Regions from separate parts of the Homo sapiens genome. Here all the other regions are linked to region 6. Evidence: promoter capture Hi-C in 16 types of primary human blood cells and fetal thymus (Javierre and others, 2016). All regions are on one chromosome and are shown on one strand. The core of a region is centred on a gene start or on the middle of the fragment in contact, and the rest is flanking DNA. Distances in the headings are between cores, read along the strand shown. Region 1 overlaps TENT5A (terminal nucleotidyltransferase 5A). Region 2 overlaps MDN1-AS1 (MDN1 antisense RNA 1). Region 3 holds the start of MDN1 (midasin AAA ATPase 1). Region 4 has its middle 9.2 kb from the start of ANKRD6. Region 5 overlaps LOC124901363 (a long non-coding RNA gene). Region 6 holds the start of SNHG5 (small nucleolar RNA host gene 5). Region 7 overlaps RRAGD (Ras related GTP binding D).

The links. Contacts are between HindIII fragments. The CHiCAGO score rates a contact against its expected background, and 5 or more counts as called.
Region 1: a fragment that was not itself captured here is called in contact with the fragment with the promoter of SNHG5 in region 6 in 1 of 17 cell types (neutrophils); the score reaches 5.4 in neutrophils.
Region 2: a fragment that was not itself captured here is called in contact with the fragment with the promoter of SNHG5 in region 6 in 3 of 17 cell types (naive CD8 T cells, neutrophils and non-activated CD4 T cells); the score reaches 8.4 in naive CD8 T cells.
Region 3: a contact is called between the fragment with the promoter of MDN1 here and the fragment with the promoter of SNHG5 in region 6, in 1 of 17 cell types (monocytes). The highest score is 8.5, in monocytes.
Region 4: a fragment that was not itself captured here is called in contact with the fragment with the promoter of SNHG5 in region 6 in 1 of 17 cell types (neutrophils); the score reaches 5.4 in neutrophils.
Region 5: a fragment that was not itself captured here is called in contact with the fragment with the promoter of SNHG5 in region 6 in 3 of 17 cell types (non-activated CD4 T cells, naive CD4 T cells and naive CD8 T cells); the score reaches 7.5 in non-activated CD4 T cells.
Region 7: a contact is called between a fragment that was not itself captured here and the fragment with the promoter of SNHG5 in region 6, in 1 of 17 cell types (neutrophils). The highest score is 5.4, in neutrophils.

Annotation. Positions count from the first base shown.
Region 1 is chr6:81,743,212-81,745,911 of GRCh38, forward strand. TENT5A (terminal nucleotidyltransferase 5A) reads right to left here. Exons shown (of 3, transcript NM_017633.3): 3 at 2,519-2,700. Among named protein-coding and RNA genes, the nearest start is that of TENT5A, 8.1 kb to the right of the region's middle. The HindIII fragment of the contact is 3,387 bases long and covers 1-2,700 here.
Region 2 is chr6:89,638,949-89,641,648 of GRCh38, forward strand. All of the region lies in intron 1 of MDN1-AS1 (MDN1 antisense RNA 1), which reads left to right. Among named protein-coding and RNA genes, the nearest start is that of LYRM2, 1.6 kb to the left of the region's middle. The HindIII fragment of the contact is 1,794 bases long and covers 445-2,238 here.
Region 3 is chr6:89,818,368-89,821,224 of GRCh38, forward strand. It overlaps MDN1 (midasin AAA ATPase 1), which reads right to left and starts at 1,427. Exons shown (of 102, transcript NM_014611.3): 1 at 1,139-1,427. The coding sequence starts at 1,240. RefSeq lists enhancers at 1-504, 1,081-1,470, 1,125-1,744, 1,745-2,364. The HindIII fragment of the contact is 1,090 bases long and covers 1,080-2,169 here.
Region 4 is chr6:89,422,535-89,425,290 of GRCh38, forward strand. It overlaps the pseudogene NACAP7. Among named protein-coding and RNA genes, the nearest start is that of ANKRD6, 9.2 kb to the right of the region's middle. The HindIII fragment of the contact is 5,077 bases long and covers 1-2,756 here.
Region 5 is chr6:90,588,965-90,591,664 of GRCh38, forward strand. It overlaps LOC124901363 (a long non-coding RNA gene), which reads left to right. Exons shown (of 2, transcript XR_007059680.1): 2 at 1,684-1,995. Among named protein-coding and RNA genes, the nearest start is that of MAP3K7, 3.2 kb to the left of the region's middle. The HindIII fragment of the contact is 5,597 bases long and covers 1-2,700 here.
Region 6 is chr6:85,677,335-85,680,034 of GRCh38, forward strand. It overlaps SNHG5 (small nucleolar RNA host gene 5), which reads right to left and starts at 1,399. Exons shown (of 6, transcript NR_003038.2): 1 at 1,360-1,399; 2 at 802-854; 3 at 620-698; 4 at 461-541; 5 at 90-158. SNORD50B (small nucleolar RNA, C/D box 50B) reads right to left here and starts at 325; the gene lies at 255-325. SNORD50A (small nucleolar RNA, C/D box 50A) reads right to left here and starts at 34; the gene lies at 1-34. RefSeq lists enhancers at 980-1,039, 1,210-1,369. The HindIII fragment of the contact is 13,479 bases long and covers 1,242-2,700 here.
Region 7 is chr6:89,364,886-89,367,585 of GRCh38, forward strand. It overlaps RRAGD (Ras related GTP binding D), which reads right to left. Exons shown (of 7, transcript NM_021244.5): 7 at 1-2,700. Among named protein-coding and RNA genes, the nearest start is that of UBE2J1, 14 kb to the left of the region's middle. The HindIII fragment of the contact is 2,876 bases long and covers 1-2,700 here.

The DNA.
Region 1 (2,700 bases), core at 96-2,595, 3.9 Mb before region 6:
TTAGTAGAGACGAGGTTTCACCATGTTGGCCAGGATGGTCCCGATCTCTTGACCTCGTGATCCTCCCGCCTCAGCCTCCCAAAGTGCTGGGATTACAGGCATGAGCCACCATGCCCGGCCAGTCTTCATTTTTAAATAAACTTTTTATGTGAGAATACTTTTATTTTTAAAAAGTGATGATATAGAAAGTTCCTATATACCCCATACCCAGTTTCTCCTTTTGTCGACATCATACTACATGTTACAACTAATGAGCTGATATTGAACCATTATTATTTCAATAATGCTTGCTTCAGATTTCCTTAGATTTTACCAAGTGCTCTTTTCTGTTGCCAGACCCCACCAGGATCCCACATTACACTTAAGTCATATGTCTCTTTAGGCTCCTCTTGGCAATGGCAGTTTTCACACTTTCTTTGTTTTAATAATTTAAGGAATACTGGTCCAGTATTTTACAGAATGCCCCACAATTTAGTTTTGGATGATGCTGTTCTCAAGATTTGGCAGGTTTTAGAGTGTTGAGGAAAAAACCACAGAGGTGAAGTGCCATTCTTATCACATCACAACAAGGGCACATACTATCATCATGACTTGTCACTACTTATGTTGGCCTTGATCAGCTGGCTGAGGTAGTGTTTGTTCGGTTTTTGCAATGGTACAGTACTCTTCTTTTTCCCTTTTCCAGATTGTAATCTTTGGACATAAGTCACTATGCACAGCCTACACTTAAGAGGTGGGTAGTTAACCTCCACCTCCTTGAAGGGCCAATATCTACATTGATTATTTGGAATCCTGCACAGTAAATTTCTTTCCCTCCATTTGTTCATTCAATCATTTATTTATATCAGTGTGAATGCATGGATACTTTACTCGTTGTGTTATAATCCATTACTATTTATTTTGTTGCTTAAATTGTTCCAGCTTTGGCTATTGGAGCTCTTTCAGTTAGCTCCTATGTCCCTTTGACATACCCCTGCCACCCTCATCATTATGATTTTTATCTTTTTTTTATGCTTTCTCAAGGCACCACAAGATGCTTCAGGCTTCTCTTATATATTTCCTGCTCCAGACATAGATTCAACTTCTAGTTCCTTTTATTGGAGAATGGCATTAGAAACCAAGATCTGAGTCATGCTAGGTAAAAGCCACTGTCATTTTAAAATCATTTCTCCTCCCTCGGTCCTACGTGATGTATTTGCTATTAGACTGAAGGATACTGTGTTCATATTGTTGATCTCAAACTTGGTCCTTTAAAGAAAATTAGAGTTTAATTTTGGAATTACTTGATTTTAACAAACCTTATTCTACTTTATATTTAAAAACTATGATATTAATTTATTTTTCTTTTTTGGTATATTTTGTTCTTTCTTTTTCTTACTAAAGGAATTAGAAGTTTAGGGAATGAGGTTACTAAGGAAAGGAAGGGTGGATTACTTCTCTCCAGGCTCAGCTAGGAGGGGCAGCCTAGTAATTCAACTAGAAATGGCAGGGTATATCTAAGCCTAGGAGAAGTTTAATATATACTGCTCTTATTCAACCATTGTTTAAAAATAATTATGTGGTGACCACAGACATATGAGGAACTGGCTGTAGAATGAAGAGGCTGCAACAAAGGAAGAAGAAAATGACACACAAATACCATTATCAAACCAAATAACCACCTTGTATTTTTATGATGCACTGTATACGGGAAGGAAGCTGGTTTTCAATGCCAAGAGTTGCTCTTTCACAGACTCGGTGTCAAGCATGCATTCTATTCAAGATCAAGACTTTAAGTGGTTTTTACAACCACATGTATATCCTATAGTAGCCTGGGCTTACCAAATTCTCATACTACTAGCATTGAGACCATCTCCAAAATTACACTAAGAAAAATTTTAATTAATACATAAATGTATGCCCCCTAGCAATTTGAATAGGTGAGGTTACATTAAATGCTAGACAAAAGGGTGATTTCCTTGCACCCAACACACACACACACACACACACACACACACACACACACAGAACATACTAGATCTTTTGATTGCTCTTCCTTCTCTATACTTCCTCTTTCAATTCCTGGCCACCAATTCCTCTCACCCCAACGTAAAAACTCTGAATAACACTATAGAGCCTCGAACAGAATCTATATAACCACTGATGAAATCACAGCCCTAAGGCTACTCAGGAAGACCAAGGCTCACGCAGAGCTACTAGAGCCCTACAGCCTACTAGAGCCATGAGTCTCTACTGATATCGGAAAACAGTTCTGACTTCTGGTCACTTAACACTGCTAAATTGATACCCAGACAAAAAAATTGTTGGCATCTATTAGCTAGATGCTTTTGGAGCTAACTGAGCCAGTCAGAGATGGGCTGACTGACAGCTGGATGTTTTCATTTATTGTGCTTCAATCAGAAAGTGGCTGAAGGCTACTCTTCTCTATGTACCGCTCTGCCTTTTCTAAAGGACGTGGGTTGGGATTCAAAGGACATGGTCTTTAGTCAATACAGACATTGTAGACAGCAAACACAAATCAATAGAAAAAAATAACTTTTTTATTTACAAAAAAATCCAAATATTGGATGCTGTAAACAAAATTCACAATCTGTTCCCTCTAGCACTGATTCAAACATGTCAGTTTTTTAGTCCATTTTCCATCAACTCCTTTTCTGCCTGTGACGCAGCCTATAGTCAAAATATTCCAAAAGAGTGACC
Region 2 (2,700 bases), core at 92-2,591, 4.0 Mb after region 6:
TAACACAGTTCCTGGTAAAGAGAGTTCAAATGAAAGTGAAGGAGGCCGGGCGCGGTGGCTCTCACCTGCAGTCCCAAGCACTCTGGGAGGCCTGTAAGGTGCCTGTAATCCCAGCTCCTCGGGATGCTGAGGCAGGAGAATCGCTTGAACCCGAGAAGTGAAGGTTGCAGTGATCCGAGATCGCACCACTGCACTCCATCCTGGGCGACAGAGCGAGACCCTGTCTCGAAAAAAAAGTTAAGGTTTTTTTGGGGGAAAGAGGTGAAAACGTATTTAAATGTTCTTTCGAGCCTTTAAAAATGTGTATAGTTGAAAATACTAAAATTGAAAGTGTTAATTTCTTTTACAGTTTGTGTTGGTTTTTTCTCTTTCTCGTTTTTGTCCTGTTCTTTTGTAGCGCAAAGGTTTTCCGGGAGCGGTGGCCTTCATGATCATTTGAAACAAAGCTTTGAATGGCTCACCCACTTCAGTCTTAAGCACTTTTCATCACTAATAACGAGGAGCCTAACATCCCTAAGCCTCAGGCTTTTGCTTTTATTTCCTTATAGTTGTTTTATCTTTCCCACAATACACATGCCTTTGGGTTAAATCACTAGAAGTGGAGTTAGCGAATCTTTGCCATATTAATTTTCCAAGTGGTGTTGTATCGAATTAAAATAGAACGAAAAATGTTCAATTACTAGTTTACTGGGGACTTGCTTGCCTCGCCTGTTAGCATCCTGGGGCTCCCTATTCCTAGCTGTGTTCTGGCTATTTCCCCTCTCCTGGCCTATTACCTCCCCTGTAAAGTGAAATATAGCATCTACCTCAGTTGTGTATCTCTAATGTACTGAGAACAGGTCCTGGCACATGTAAGAACTCTAATCATTAGCTCTTTTGAACTTTACCAGGCATTGTATGAATGATGCTAACTGCATGATCATATTATCAATAATATATGCCAAATTTTGTCTAATACATTAGCTGTAATAGTTAATTGCTAACTTTTTAAAAGGAGTGAAGTTAAATACCCCTCGCCATTTTTAGTTATACTGTTTTTGTGAATTGTTCATGACTTGGGTCCGTTTATGATGAGGACATTTATATGGGCTCTATATTTTTTGTCATTTCTTTATACATACAGAAACTTTATACAATCATGTATTTTTGTGCCTTTTGAGGCTTTTCATTTCCCATTCAGGCCTTTGTAATTCGTTTTTTAAAAACTTTAATTTTTAAAATATTTACTCCATCTAGAATTTACTTTGGTTTACAGCATCACGTGGATCTAAGTTCTTTTCTAGATGTTAAGCTGTATCAATACCATTGATTACATAACTCATTCCTTTTTCGGGGCTTTATGATGGATGCCTTTTTGACTGTATGATAAATTCTTTTAGGGTCTGAGTAATCTGTCCAGAATTGTTTCATTTAGGGTTAAGTTTTTACTTTTTGTTTTATATGTTTTTATTATCTGGCAGGACTCTAGTTTCTTGTAAAAAATCCATTAGTACTGTTCTCTATAATCTTTAGAAATGTTTTGTATCATTTCCCTCCAAATCATCTTGTGATCTTGGTTGGAATTTTGAAGTAGTGTTGAATCTATACATTAATATGTGAGAAAGACATTTTTACATTATTTCTTCTTCCCATCAAGAAACACTCAGGCCAGGTGCGGTGGCTCATGCCTATAATCCCAACACTTTGGGATACCGAGGTGGATCACCTGAGGTCAGGAGTTCGAGACCAGCCTGGCCAACATGGTGAAACCTCGTCTCTACTAAAATACAAAAAATTAGCCGGGCCTGGTGGCGCACGCCTGTGGTCCCAGCTACTTGGGAGGCTCAGGCAGGAGAATCGCTTGAACCTGGGAGACGGAGGTTGCAGTGAGCCGAGATTGCGCCATTGCACTCCAGCCTGGGCAACAAGAGCAAAGCTCTATTTAAAAAAAAAAAAAAAAAAAAAAAAGGGCTCACTCTTGCTAGACACTGGTAATGCTGTCGTGAGTCACATATGCTCCTTGCTCAAAGACTCATGCTTTGGGCAGGAAAACCTCTAAGTTCAATATAGTGCTAACAAAGAATGCTGCAGTTCATACTGTGGGAAATTATTCTTCCTGGAGGGCTTGTCTGAGCTAGGTATTTGTCAGAAACGCAGAATCACTAAGAGGATTCCAGACAACACATGGAAACACTGGCAGGAATGCTGGGAGAGGAGGGACAGGAGAGTCAAGCAAGAGCCTCACAGGTCACATGAAGAAGCTTGAATATTACCCTCTTCACAAGGGAGAGCTTTGAAGGGATTTTCAGCTACAGAACTTTTAGAAAGATCTTGGATGTTGTGAATAGGATGAAGTGAAGCAAGCAAAGAGAAGTTACTGGCCTGGCCAGGATACCATTGAAGTAGTCCCTGCTAGAGATTAAAAGAGTCCCAGTCACAGTGCAGTAGGGGGAGGGGGAGGGATGGGACAGGATATCCAGAAGCCTGACTGGACAAGATGATTAATTAATTTGATTGGGGTATGGATAGAGATGGAGAAGGAAGTAAAGCAGATGTATAGGTTAAGTCCCAAGTTTGTAAACAGGGTGGCTGTTGGAGTGGTCATCCCAGATGGGGAATGTTGAAGGAATGGGTTTGGAATAGGGGAATTAGAACACAGTGACATCCAGCAGATGTCTGAATATAATTAAGAATACCAAAGAGTAGATTTCCTGGACCCCT
Region 3 (2,857 bases), core at 177-2,676, 4.1 Mb after region 6:
TCACTCCTACAATCCCTGCACTTTGGGAGGCCAAGGCGGGATGATCACTTGAGCCCAGGGGTTCCAGACCAGTCGGGGCAACAAAGGGGGACCTTACAACTACAAAAAAAAAATTTTTTTTTTAATTAGCCACACCTGGGACCCAAGTACCTGGGACCACACTCACCTGTCCCGTGGCTCACGCCTGTAATCCCAGCACTTTGGGAGGCTGAGGCGGGTGGATCACGAGGTCAAGAGATCGAGACCATCCTGGCCAACATGGTGAAACCCCGTCTCTACTAAAAATACAAAAAGTAGCTAGGCATGGTGGCGCTCGCCTGTAATCCCAGCTACTGAGAGGGTGAGGCAGGAGAATCGCCTGAACCCGGGAGGCGGAGGGTGCAGTAAGCCGAGATCGCGCCACTGCACTCCAGCCTGGCGACACAGCGAGACTCCGTCTCAAAAAAAAAAAAAAAGTGTCTTCAACTCAGATAGAAGGAGTCAATGAGAAGGTTCTTAAAAGCCCGAAGACCTATTTCCCAGAAAACTCTAATTAACCTTATAATTTGTATAGTTAGTTACAGTGAGTATGAGCTGTCTTGCTCTGTACTTCAGCTGTTGTAAGTGTTTACGAACTGTCTCCAAAAACAGATGCAAATTTCCCTCATGGCAGAGATCGTAACGAATTTATCTATCCACTTTCTCACAGCGCCACACCGTTCCTTACGCACAGCAGGAATGCAATCAGTATTTGTCGATGGTTCCCCAAACTAACAGGAGTGGCTGCACTACGCACACTTAGGTGATACGTACACTTGTCAAAACGGCAGAAACGCAACCTCAATTTCAGAAAAACAAACCACATTCCTTTGGGAAGGCCACCTCTGCCACAAGCAGCCAAAGCGCTTGCATAGGGGTGAGAGGCGATGGGAAGGGTACTGGAAGGCTCCCCCAGATAAAAACAAAAGACTCCTTCCAATCGCCTCAAACACGCTCGGAAACCTCCACGACCTGCGCCAGCCCACAGGAGGGGGCCAGCTTGACCTGAGGCTGCACCACTCCCCACTTAAAGCGGCGAGTATCGGCGGGGGAGCGCAGGAAGCTTACTAGTGGGGCGACCCAGTCGTTCCGGCGCTTTCCCTCTCCCTTCACGTCTTACCTGCTTGGCCAAGAACCTGCCCAACTCACTGCGGCTCTTCTCGTTCTTGGCTGCGATTAACCGCAGCGGCGCGGCTGCCACCTCCAGCAAGAAGTGCTCCATGACCCAGGGCCCTCACCCCGAGCGGCCACCTGCGCTCCCTACTTCGCGGCCAGCGTCCCCAAGCCGCCGAGGTCCCAGTGCCCGAGCAGCCAGCAACTACGCCCGCAGGAAAGGCGTCCTCAGCTCCAGCGCCTACACCGGGAGAGGGGCACCACACGTGGGTGAGCACACGGCGTTTGACGTCATCAGCTCGGGACGGCTACGCTGCGCCCTCCCGGCCTCAGCCCCTCAGCGGCGGAAACGCCAGTCTTCGCTGTCCCGCCTTTTCCGGGAGGGAAATGGAAACAAAAATCTAGTCGGTTTGGATGCAGGAGTGATGGGGACTCGCGAACACAGCACGTGGTGGGACAGAAAGAAGAGTGCGTTAGGCCGGGGAGGAAAGAGGGGGCGTGTGAGTCTCAGCCCACCGTGCCTTGCTTCTGCCTTAACACACGGAAAGATCAGATGTGAGAGAAAAGCTGATTCTCGGCCGGGCGCGGTGGCGCATGTCTTTATCCCAGCATTTTGGGAGGCCGAGGAGGGCAGATCACTTGAGGTTAGCAGTTCGAGACCAGCCTGGGCAACATGGTGAAACCCCCTTCTCTACTAAAAATACAAAAATTAGCCGGGCGTGGTGGCGCGCGCCTGTAGTCCCAGCTACTCGGGAGGCTGAGGCAGGAGAATCGCTTGAACCCGGGAGACGGAGGTTACAGTAAGCCGAGATCGTGCAGCTGCACTCCAGCCGCGCGACACAGCAGACTTTTACTGTCTCAAAAAAAGAAAGAAAAGCTGATTCTCCCCTTCTTGTTAGCGGTGGCAGTTACCCCCTGTATAGGTAGGGGTCAGCAGTAACCTTAGTTCTTGCCTCCTCAGAAGAAATAATTCCACGAAGGGCATAAGGCAGGATAGACCTAGACAAGTTTCAGAATAGAAGTAAAAGTTTATCAAAAAGCTTTAGAACGGGACGGAAAGAAAAGGAGGAAAGTACAACTTGGAAGACTGCCAAGCAGGCGACTTGAGAAACCAAGTGCGCAGCTTGACCTGTTGACTTGAAGTTTTATATGTTGGCATACTTTGGGGAACTTGCATTGCTTCTCCCCACTCCTGAGATCTTACTGGGAAGCTACTGATCAGTTTCAGGTGTTTTCTATTAGGAGACTGCCTTTCGCTGGCCCCGGTGAACGTTAGAGAAACAGTTAAGAACCGCCTGACCATCGTTTGATTGTCACCCAATAGTCCTGGTATGTGTGGGGTGGGGAGCGCTCTCCTGTTCTGCTCATACCTAACTAGTTAACATTCTGCCCCAGCAATTCCCCTTGTAGGACTCTAGCCTGCGGAAATCCTCACTAAGTGTGACAAAGACACCCCTTGCAGTTTTCTTAATACAGATATTGGAAGAAAATGTTCAATTGGGAATATTAAACTATGGGGTGTAAGTTATAGCATATTCTGGAAGTCATAAAAAATAGTAGAGTCCATAACATTAAAAGTGCACTTGTGGGCTGGGCGCAGTGGCTCAAGGCAAGGCAGGCAGATCACGAGATAAGGAGTTGGAGACCAGTCTGGCCAACATGGTGAAACCCTGTCTCTACTAAAAATACAAAAATTAGGGCTGGGTGCCTTGGCTCACGCCTGTAA
Region 4 (2,756 bases), core at 46-2,545, 3.7 Mb after region 6:
GCCTTCTTTTCTTTTCTTTCTTTCTGTCTTTTGAGACGGAGTTTCACTCTGTCGCCCAGGCTGGAGTGCAGTGGTGCAATCTCAGCTCACTGCAACCTCTGCCTCCTGAGTTCAAGTGATTCTCCTGCCTCAGCCTCCTGAGTATCTGGGATTACAGGAACGTGCCACCATACTTGGCTAACTTTTGTATTTTTAGTACAAATACTAGACTAGTACTTAGACTAGAGATGGGGTTTCACCATGTTGCCCAGGCTGGTCTCGAACTCCTGACCTCAAGTGATCTATCTGCCTCGGCCTCCCAAAGTGCTGGGATTACAGCTGTGAGCCACCGTGCCTGGCTATGTGCCTACCCTTCACTCTGACTGTGTTTTGCTTTCTTGACTGGTTCTTCATCAAATGCGGCTGCTGCTGCCACCTGGGCTTATTCTGTGGAATTTTGTTCCTTGAGTTCTGGTACTGATTCTTCACTGCAAGATTCAGTGCCAGACCTGTGCAGGGAATATAAAGATGGCAGCAGAAAGAGCCCACACTTCTTATTTCAGGAGAAAATTATAAGTCTATTCCTTAAGCTAGTGCTTCCCCACCTTCTATGGTAATGGCACACATAGAAAATGATACTATTTGGACCTAAGCGGTGGCTCACTCCTATAATTCCAGCTCTTTGGAAGACTGAGGTGGGAGGATTGCTTGAACAGGAGTTTAAGACCAACCTGGGCAATATAGCAAAACTCCCATCTCTACAAAGAAATTTAAAAATTGGCTGAGGCAGGAGGATTTCTTGAGCCCAAGAGTTCGAGGCCACAGTGAGCTATGATCGCACCACTGCATTCCAGCCTGAGCAACAGAACAAGACCCCATCTCTTACAAGAAAAGAAAAAAGAAAGATACTATTTGTATGGTACAATTCTGTGTAAATGGACAGGCTACTTACAGCCAGAGGTGACTGGCCTGAAGACTTTAGTCACCCTCAGGCCTTGCCTAGCTGCCCTAAAGGCTGAGGGGATCAAAAACTTGGCCATACCTGTAAGCCATTTATGGCACCCAAGTGGTGGTGGCGAACCAGTTGGGAAGTTCAGCTTAAGCCATGTGGATGGGGTGCTCTAAACTTTGCAGCAACTGACACAATATATATCCTTTATGAGTGGAGAGAAGAAAGGATGGATGAACTTGATCATATACTTGGTGATGAAATTCAGGAGTCATATCATATTCAAAGGATCCTGGTAAAGGTGTCTCTGGATATTACAGGAGACAATTGAGACTCCTCAAGAAAGGGACCATGGCTGGGTGCGGTGGCTCATCCCTATAATCCCAGCACTTTGTGAGGCCAAGGCAAGAGGATCACTTGAAGTCAGGAGTTCAAGACCAGCCTGAGCAACAAAACAAGACTCTATCTCTACCAAAAATAAAAAATAAAATTACCTAGACACGGTGGCATGTGCCTGTAATCCCAGCTACTTGGGAGGCAGAGGCGGAAGAATCACTTGAGCCCAGGAGTTTGTGGCTGCAGTAAGCTACAACGGCACCACTGCGCTCTAGTGTAGGTGACAGAGAGTAAGACCCTGTCTCAAAAAACGCTGGAGGGGGGACCTTGCTTTTACTTCTCTCTGCACTTCTCCCTTTATTCTTCTCTCTCTGCATGAAAATTGGCTTTCTGTGCTTTTCCTACCAGAGGGCAGGAGACAGCTGCCCCACCCTCCTGGTCCCAGTGATAGTGGGCCCATCCTCTGGAATCAGGCTTCCTAGGTTTAAATCCTAACTCCATCCTTAGTATCTGTGTGACCTGTAGCAAGTTACTTAACCTCTCTGTGCCTCAATTTACTCATCTCTAAACTACTGATAATGTAACATACCTCAGTAGGGTTGTGGGAAGGAATTAAATCCATTAAACTATATAAAATAATTTAGGACCATGTATTACTCTGTTTTCGTGCTGCTGATAAAGACATACCTGAGACTGGGCAATTTTACAAAAGAAGGAGGTTTAATTGGGCTTACAGTTCCACGTGGCTGGAGAAGCCTCACAATCATGGTGGAAGGCAAGGAGGAGCAAGTCCTGTCTTACATGGATGGCAGCAGGCAAGGAGAGAATGAGGAAGACGCAAAAGCAGAAACCCTTGATAAAACCATCAGATCTTATGAGACTTATTCACTAACACAAGAACAGTATGGGGAAACCACCCCCATGATTCAATTATCTCCCACTGGGCCCCTCCCACAACACGTGGGAATTATGGGAGTACAATTCAAAATGAGATTTGGGTGGGGACACAGAGCCAAACCATATCAGACAGTAAGCACTATATAAGTGTTAGCTATTATTATCTTTAATTCCCAGGCAAGAAAATCTGATTGGCTGAGTTTGAGCCAGTGGTTCACTCCTGGCCTAATCCCCTAATTGTGCACTACATATCACTAGGTACTAGTCCTCTAGAGCATTTGTCTCAATTGTAATTTAAGATTTGATTGAGGACTGTATTCACAACTAGACTGTGGGACCATCTTCTTTTGTCCACCATTCTATTCTCAGTGCCTAGCACAGTAGCTATAATCTGGACGAAATATAATTGTACTGTATACCACTTACATTGTACTTTATGTGCAGCATATATATATATATACATAAATAGCTTGATGGTGGTCAAGTCCCGATAAATATGTGTTGAAGACTGAATTAATGGTCCCCTCCACTATGGCTGGAGATGCAGCTGTGTGGCTGCAGAGGTCTACCCTCAGGGATGGAGAAGTTATTTCCT
Region 5 (2,700 bases), core at 88-2,587, 4.9 Mb after region 6:
ATATGTGCATCTCATCTCTCCATCCATATTTACATCCATCTACCATTTTGCTAGATGCATTTCAAAGTGAATTGATTACATGATTTTGAATATCTTCTACCCCAACACTTCTATGTTTTATCCACTGATTTGGACTTCTAATATTGATGCCAGTCTAAAATCAATTTTTGTCCAACTTGCTTGCAGATTACTTTTTTCTTTTTTGTCTGCCTGCGCCTTTTCCCTAGCTTCTAGTAATAGATGGAAAGTTTCATCAGTGTTTATGTCTCTGGGTTCAGTCATTCCCAAGGTCCAATCCATCTCTTACATTCTGTGATTTGGTTATGTGAGCTAGTAAATTACCATTTCATTTAAGCTGGTCCAAGTTGTATTTTTGTCACTTGTAACCAAATAATCCTAAGTAATAAAGTTTAAATGCAGAGGAATGATGGAGGGGAGCTGAACCTCTCTCAGTTCACTTCAATTTTGACTTTGCATTTCCTTTAACTTTCATGAATTAAGGATAGAAACTTGACCTCAGAATTTCATGTCAACTTCAGTCACCAGTCTGTGTGTCTCCACACGTTTCCGGATACATATCAAAACTATTTAAGTAAATTCCTTGAAGTCCCTCCGAGTTTGAGCACCCTCCACCATTCTCCCTCATGTCAGCACCCTAATAACTACTCTCTAACTTCCAACTCTGTCTTCAATTTTGGCCCTTTTATACTCTCCAGGGGTTGAGAGGACAAGGGTTTCAAAATCCATTTCCCACCACCTCTTTGCTTGTTCTAAATGAGATTCTGATCTTATTTGGCTCATTTTGGGTGTAGGGATATCTGGGACCTATTTTAATGGAGGCTTAGCAGAAACTGGGACTAAAGTAACACCACTTTAATGTTCTGGGTCATATATATGTCAGACAAGTGTTCCATATTTCCATCATAGGCTTGATGATAACATCAATAATTGAGTTTCCATTATTCTCTTCTGCCTTTTGTGGTATTTGCTATATTCTACAATAGTGTTTTTCAATCTTTTTTTTCATTATTGTTCTTTTAAGGAGCCTTTTTAGACATCTTAATGCCCCTCCTCAAAGTTTTAATACCTCAGATACACTGTATATCTATTTATGTATTGTATGTATATTTGTGCTTTCTATGTAAAAAGAGTAAGATTTTTTCTCTCTCCAGTTTTTGCCCCCTGTGGAGGTGTTATTGCCTCCATTGAGAATGCATGTACTAGCAGTTTCATTTTTCACATGACACATCACAAAGTACAACCGAGAGCATCTCTTGGTAGCCATCTCAGAAGAGCAGTTAAACATTCTTTTTCAAAAGCCCTTGGTAAGTTTACCCTTGAGGGATGGGGAACAGGATGCTTGAGGATACACACAGTCATGCGCTGCATAACGATTTTTTGGTCAATGGACCTCATATGTGACAGTGGTCCTATATGATTATAATGAAGCTGAAAAAATCCTATTGGCTAGTGACATTGTAGCCATAGTAATGTCATAGCATGACACATTACTTATAGTGCATTACTCGTGTTTGTGGTGATACTGGTGTAAACAAACTTATGCTGCTAGTCATACAAAAGTATAATACAATTATGTGCAGTGCATAATATTGATAATGATAAACAACTATGTTACTGGTTTATATAATTACTATACTATACTTTTTAATTGTTATTTTACAGTGTACTCCTACTTCCATAAAAAAACTATAAAACAGCCTCAGGCAGGTCCTTCAGGAGGTATTCCAGAAGAAGGCATTGTTATCATAAGAGATGACTGCTCCGTGCGTGTTATTGCCCCTGAAGACTTTCTGGTGGGACAAGATGTGGAGGTGGAAGATAGTGATGTTGATGATCCTGACCCTGTGTAGGTAGACCTAGGCCAACATATGTTTGTCTTACTTTTTAGCCAAAACGTTTAAAAACTATAAAAAAATAAATAAACAGAAAAAAGTGTATAGAATAAGGATCCAAATAAAATACTTTTGTACAGCTGTTCAGTGTGTTTGTGTTTTAAAGCTAAGTGTTATTACAAAAGAGTCAAAAAGTTTTAAAAAATTTAAAAGTTTATGAAGTAAAAGAGTTATAATAAGCTAAGGTTAATTTATTGTTGAAGAAAACTTTTAAAAAATAAATTTAGTGTAACCCAAGAGTACAGTGTTTATAAAGTCTACAGTAGTGTACAGTAATGTTCTAGGCCTTCGCATTCACTCACCAGTCACTCACTGGCTCACCCAGAGTAACTTCCAGTCTTGCAAACTCCATTTATGGTGAGTGCCCTATATAGGTGTACCATTTTTTTAAATCTTTTATATTGTTTCGTTACTGTACCTTTTCTATGTTTAGATACACAAATACCATTGTGTTACATTTGCCTGCAGTATTCAGTATAGTAACATGGTTTATACAGCTTGTAGCCTAGGAACAGGTATAGCTGTTATATACCTAGGTATACCATATAGCCTAGGTGTATAGTAGGCTATGTCATCTTGTAATGATATAAGTATATAATGTTTGTATAAGTACACTCTATGATGTTCACATAATGGTGGAATTGCCGATCAACACACTTCTCAAAACTTATCCCTGTAGTTAAGCAATGCATGACTGTACGTTGTTTAACTTAGATTGAGGGCTCCTGGAAACATGGGCTCTAAGGAGGAGGAGGAGATGCTAACCCGAAGGAAAATCTTAATACTC
Region 6 (2,700 bases), core at 149-2,648:
GAAGTTCAGGTTCGGGATAAGATCATCACAGATAAGACCAAGGACACAATATTCACTGATCTCTAAGCAAACAGAAAAACTCCACTTACAGAAATCGTTGCAACTTTGGAACTTCCAAGACAATCTGGCCTCTATCAATGGGCAGACAGCGACCCTCACTGTTGGCAGAAAAAAAAAAAACCCAGGATTTTATAACACAACTGTTATAAAATCACGGCAACAAAATTTACTCCACCTCTGAATTACTGGTCTTAATCTCAGAAGCCGAATCCGTACTTATTTTTCTTCAGGTTATCAGCTTCGGGATAGGTTTCATCATTGATTAGACCAATCAGACCTTGTATATGTACACATAATACATTAAACTGCACTTCTGTGACACTGACTACAAACCAAGGTAATGCTAAAAGGCAAGTATTATAGTACAAATACTACAGAACTTTTAAGCCATACAACCTACTTCAAAATGAAGCTGCTAGTCAGTCACATTCGACATTCATTATCTTCACTGGCTACTCGTCCACACTCAGAACGCTGTTCACTGACAAAAAAAATTTGATTTAGTCTAGGTGTGGATTAAATGCTATGCTCAATCATAAAGTACTAAAACAACACATACCTGTTAAAAGTGTCAGGTTTTAACCAAGCGATTTTCCATTAAATATTCTCCCAGATGTTCTGGAAGTTTTTTCGTGTATCTAACAAAAAAAAGTAAATTTCAAACGATGCAACAGTTCCTATTCCTGTAAATCAACAGGTTTACTCCTTTAGTTTGGAAACTAAGCTTAACTAAGCTCTTACCTTTGCATCTTCAGAGCTGCTCCACTGTGCCACTGAAGACAGCGCCATTGTTCCTGCGGGAAATCGGTATTTAAGCATTCTCGCAGAAATGTCACACTCCAAGGCGTTTTTCCACACAAAACCCTTCCCCTTCATTAATCCGAATTGCACACAACGCCGCCTTCGAACAGCTCAGTTTCAATACAGGGTCGAGGCTTCCCATTTTAAAACAACGCCGACGGAAGGCCTTCGCCATTTTAGTAAAGGCCCTTTGCTGTTAAAACTAACCCTCCGCCCCAATTAAGGTGGTTTTTCCGCCGCCGCTCAGGCACATGCCGGAGGCCAGCAAGTTCGGCGCCCGTGGCCGATCAGCGGTTCCTCACGCCAAAACTCGGAGCCTGTGGCCGTCACGACTCAACCTCAGTACATGTGGCAGTCCGGCCGCACGTTTCCCACGTGCAAGCTTTCAACTCTCAGCACTCTAAACTCTTCACTAAGATGTCTTCACAGGATTAAAGCTCTTAACTCGGCCTGCGCCACCATCTTTTGCTCGGATACTAGCCCGCAATACCCACTCACCTACCACCCGCCCAGACGCTCGCGAAGGCCGACGTAAAAGACCGAAGTGCGCAGCCAGTAGCTCCTTATATAGCCTCCCGGAGTCAGAACGAGGCCGTCCCGCCCTCTCGCACCTATTGGACATGGAAGTAGACAGGGGTGTGGTCGCGAATTAGCGGGAGCGCGCGCGGTGGCTCTTCTGAGGCCCGTTCCGCGTTGTGGAGCGCGCCGCAGGCCGGCCGCGCGCCCGGCCATTTCCCGGCGCGCGCCCGCAGGCGCACTGCGAAGCGTCTCTTACGAGTCTGGCGGCCGACTTGGCCCTACGTGGCGCGGGTGTGGCGCCAGAATTCAAACAGCTGCAGTTGGAAACGACGCTTTCGCCTGCCACGAGCCAAGTCCGTCCAGGACAGATTGGGTCCGAGAGTGGACACAAGTTTTGCAGCGCAGGGCGGCCTCAGCTTAGGACCGATTCGAGAAGCTGGGCTGGCTGGCTGGCTGGCGCTGGGCTGTAGTGGGCCCCCAGCGGAGGCCGCCGGAGGAGCGGGCGAGCCCTGGCCGCAGCACTCCGGGAAAGGGCAGTTGGCTGGCAGAAACGCTTGGGTGAAAAAGCGGAAAGCGCCACGTGAGAACAGCCCCGGCGTGCGGCCCTGCAGGGCCTCAGGGCGGGCATCAAGGCCCCATGGGGATCCATTCCTCCTCACGCTTCCTCGTGCCAGGCATCCGGTTACACTAAACGTGACCATACAAGTCTCCCTCAAACAGCGAACGTGAGGTTCAATACTCCATTTCGCAGAGGAGAAAACTGAGGCTTAAAACAGCCAGGTAATTTGCCTAAGGTCACACAGCTGAAATGCTTTGCTAATTTTTAACTTCTTTGTACTCAATTAGTTATATTGAAAACGAGAGAAAGATTAATTTGAGAAGTATCCCTGAATACTTTATCCAGACGACAAACACAAAATTCAAAAGCAGTGCTTTGATTAATTAGCATGTTCGAGTGAATATGTCTGCGTGTGTGTGTGTGCACACGACATTTGAACATTTCAGTATTTGAAAATTCAGGTCGTTCTTCACTTCTATATTTCAAAGCACTACTTATTAAAGTTGTTTATGTGTGCATTTGATTACGGTCCGATTCTGCTAGAGTGTGGGAGCAACACATCTGATTTCGTGCTCTGCTGTTTATTTTTTCTTAGAACAGTGCCTAGCATTAAGTAGGTTGTCGGTAATGGTTAAATGAATGAATGAATGAACAAATACATTCGGTGGCTTTTTAGAAAATTAGAATGAAGATCAAACTTCACATTCAAAGATAGTAGTGAAAAGCACTTTTCTCTAACAGGAACCTATATGATGAAGTAT
Region 7 (2,700 bases), core at 125-2,624, 3.7 Mb after region 6:
TTAAATTGGCAGTTAACATTCTTGAAAGCAATGGCTTAACAATGGTTATTAAGTGATGTACTGCTTAAAGTAAAACATGGACTATACCTGATTACAAATTACATCCAGTCTGTACAAGTTGAATACATACCATACTTTAATAACCAAGACAATTCAGCTGTTTTTCCAGAGTATATTTCAAACAGAGTTGGCATATAACCCGTATGTAACAATATTGCTGTGATTTTAGTCATATTTAAGGGTCCAAAATATGTTCACAAAAGAACAGTTTGTGAATGTCAACCAGTTTTTGCTTTATATTCCTTCAAAAACATTCCACCCTGGTCATTCACACTAATCTACATCACTGAAAATAACCAAAATAATTCACAGTCTCACCTCTATGTAAAAATTCTAATTGACTCAACAGGGAAAGGACTGCCCTGCTCCTTTTGAGGAAGGAAACCTGCAAGGCAAGTTCTCAATCCCTAAAACCAAGCAAAAATGTTCCAGTGCAGTTGCTGTAGCCATGTATTTAGGATTTGTATTTATAGAATTAAATTTGAGAATGAAACATGGCCATACACATCGCAATAAGCTGCCTCTCATATCAAAAATACAATGCAAAATGACTTGAAGACATTTCCAATAACACAGATTTGAAAAACTGAACGCTTAGACATAACTCCTGCATCTTTCTTTAATTAAGAAGTCATTGCCACACTTACAAAGTTAGAGGCAGTAATCTATATTAGCGTGTGATTAATCAAAGAGTACACTTACTACCATGAACTTGGGCCCTATGTCATAGAATTATTTTTGCCTTTCCCCCAAAGAATCATTTGCTCTTGAAGTAATAGGCTTTTTAAGGCACATTTTAACAAAAACCCATCATATACCCAGCTTAAACATGGAAGCTCCAACCTGGTTATAGTAATAAATATACCTAAGTAATGTGTGATTTACCAAATAGGCTAGTGTCTCTAGCTTGAGGATAAAGTCATATTAGAAAACTGATTCTTCATTTGCTTATTCAAAGTGAAACAACATGTAAAAAATATTAGAGAATTAGATTTATAACAATAACCCCTAAGTGTCAGGTCTGTTGGCAAAGGTCCAACAGGATATAGCTCTGGAAATCAGGGAGCCCTGGGCTCCTAACCATCCAGGTTTCGGAGTAGGAATCATGAGGAAAGGAGTTAGGGCACCTTAATTATTTTTAGAAATCTCCTTTCAAAATGCACAGAACCTTGGGAGGCTCAAACCTTAAACACCAACCAGATATCATCTTAAATTCAGTTACCAGCTTCAAAGAAACAGGACTTGGGGAGAGGAAGGAGAGAGGTTGGAAAGAAGCCACAGAGAGAAGTGGGAAAGTTTAGGCTGGGCACAGTAGCTCAGGCCTGTAATCTCAGCATTTGAGGAGGCCAAGGCAGGAGGATTGCTTGGGGCCAGGAGTTTGAGACCATCTTGGGCAACACAGTGAGATCCTGTCTCTACAAAAACAAAATTTAAGAATTAGCCGGGCGTGGTTGTGCACACCTGTAGTTCTAGCTACTAGGGAGGCTGAGGTGGAAGGATCCCTTGAGCCCAAGAGGTAACAGTGAGCTATGATTGTACCAATGTATTCCAGCACAAGCAACAGAATGAGGCCCCCCTCTAAAAAAAAAAAAAAAAAAAGTTTCAAGTATAAGTTGCTTTAGGGACTTTATATATTTTGCTAGGACCAACTTTGATGTTCTTAGGAGGCTCTGCTTTAAAAAAAAAAAAATCTCATTTTCTAATGCCCCACAAGCATGCCTTAGGGTGCTAACCCTTGAGATGCACGTAAAATTATCTACTTGGAATGATTTGGCATAGGGGTAGATTTAGGACTCTTAATTTCCTGTTAGTCTAAAGTAAACATAAGTGAAATAATTTCACAGAAACAATTACACAGCTAATTGTAATGTCTCTCCAGCCATCCTTTTCCCACTGACCTTTAGGGGTCTTCAGGATGACTCTTCAGCCTTGCAGAGCATGCTGGTGGCAGGCTGAGCTTGGCTTAATCATAAGGTGGGAACAAGTGGAGTACATGAGGCATGTTATCACCAGTGAGAAGGAGATGTGGAGGTGACAAAAGTGACTAACAGGATTGAGCTCCATGGTGGGGTTCTGCGATTTGTTCTATTCACTATGGTCATGGAGCAATAAAGAACTGGTCCTGAATAAGCATTTTAAATGCAGCACACCAGACCATCGCACAGGGCCAAAAGTCCAGAATTGTATCTATGTTTTTTAGTCTGCAGTTGCCAATCACATACTTTTGGAACAACTTTAGGCCTCTGATGTTACTTTAGCCCTGGGTGGTAGGTACAGAAAAGCCTCCAGAAACCCTACAATTCAGTGACATTCTTACTTCTCTCCAGTGTTCGGCACCATTTTGGAAATCTGGTCCCAAAGTTTCAAAAGAATACTAATGCAACAAAAAGAAATAACCTCTCTGTATAAAGTGATTATAGAGATGTGTGTTGAGGTAAACAGCTTCATAAAAACCGTTGAGCAGGGAAGCACAGCCACTGCTATAGAAATTTTTAGGTAAGTCTGGTGCTAGCATTATTCTACAAAACTGTTTACACCCATTATAAATAGGGGACAGTTCTTATTGCTCCTGGAGCTTGTAGCTCCAATCTGTTCCAGCTCCACTGAAAAATGATTTTTCTCAACAATTGGTAGCAAAGA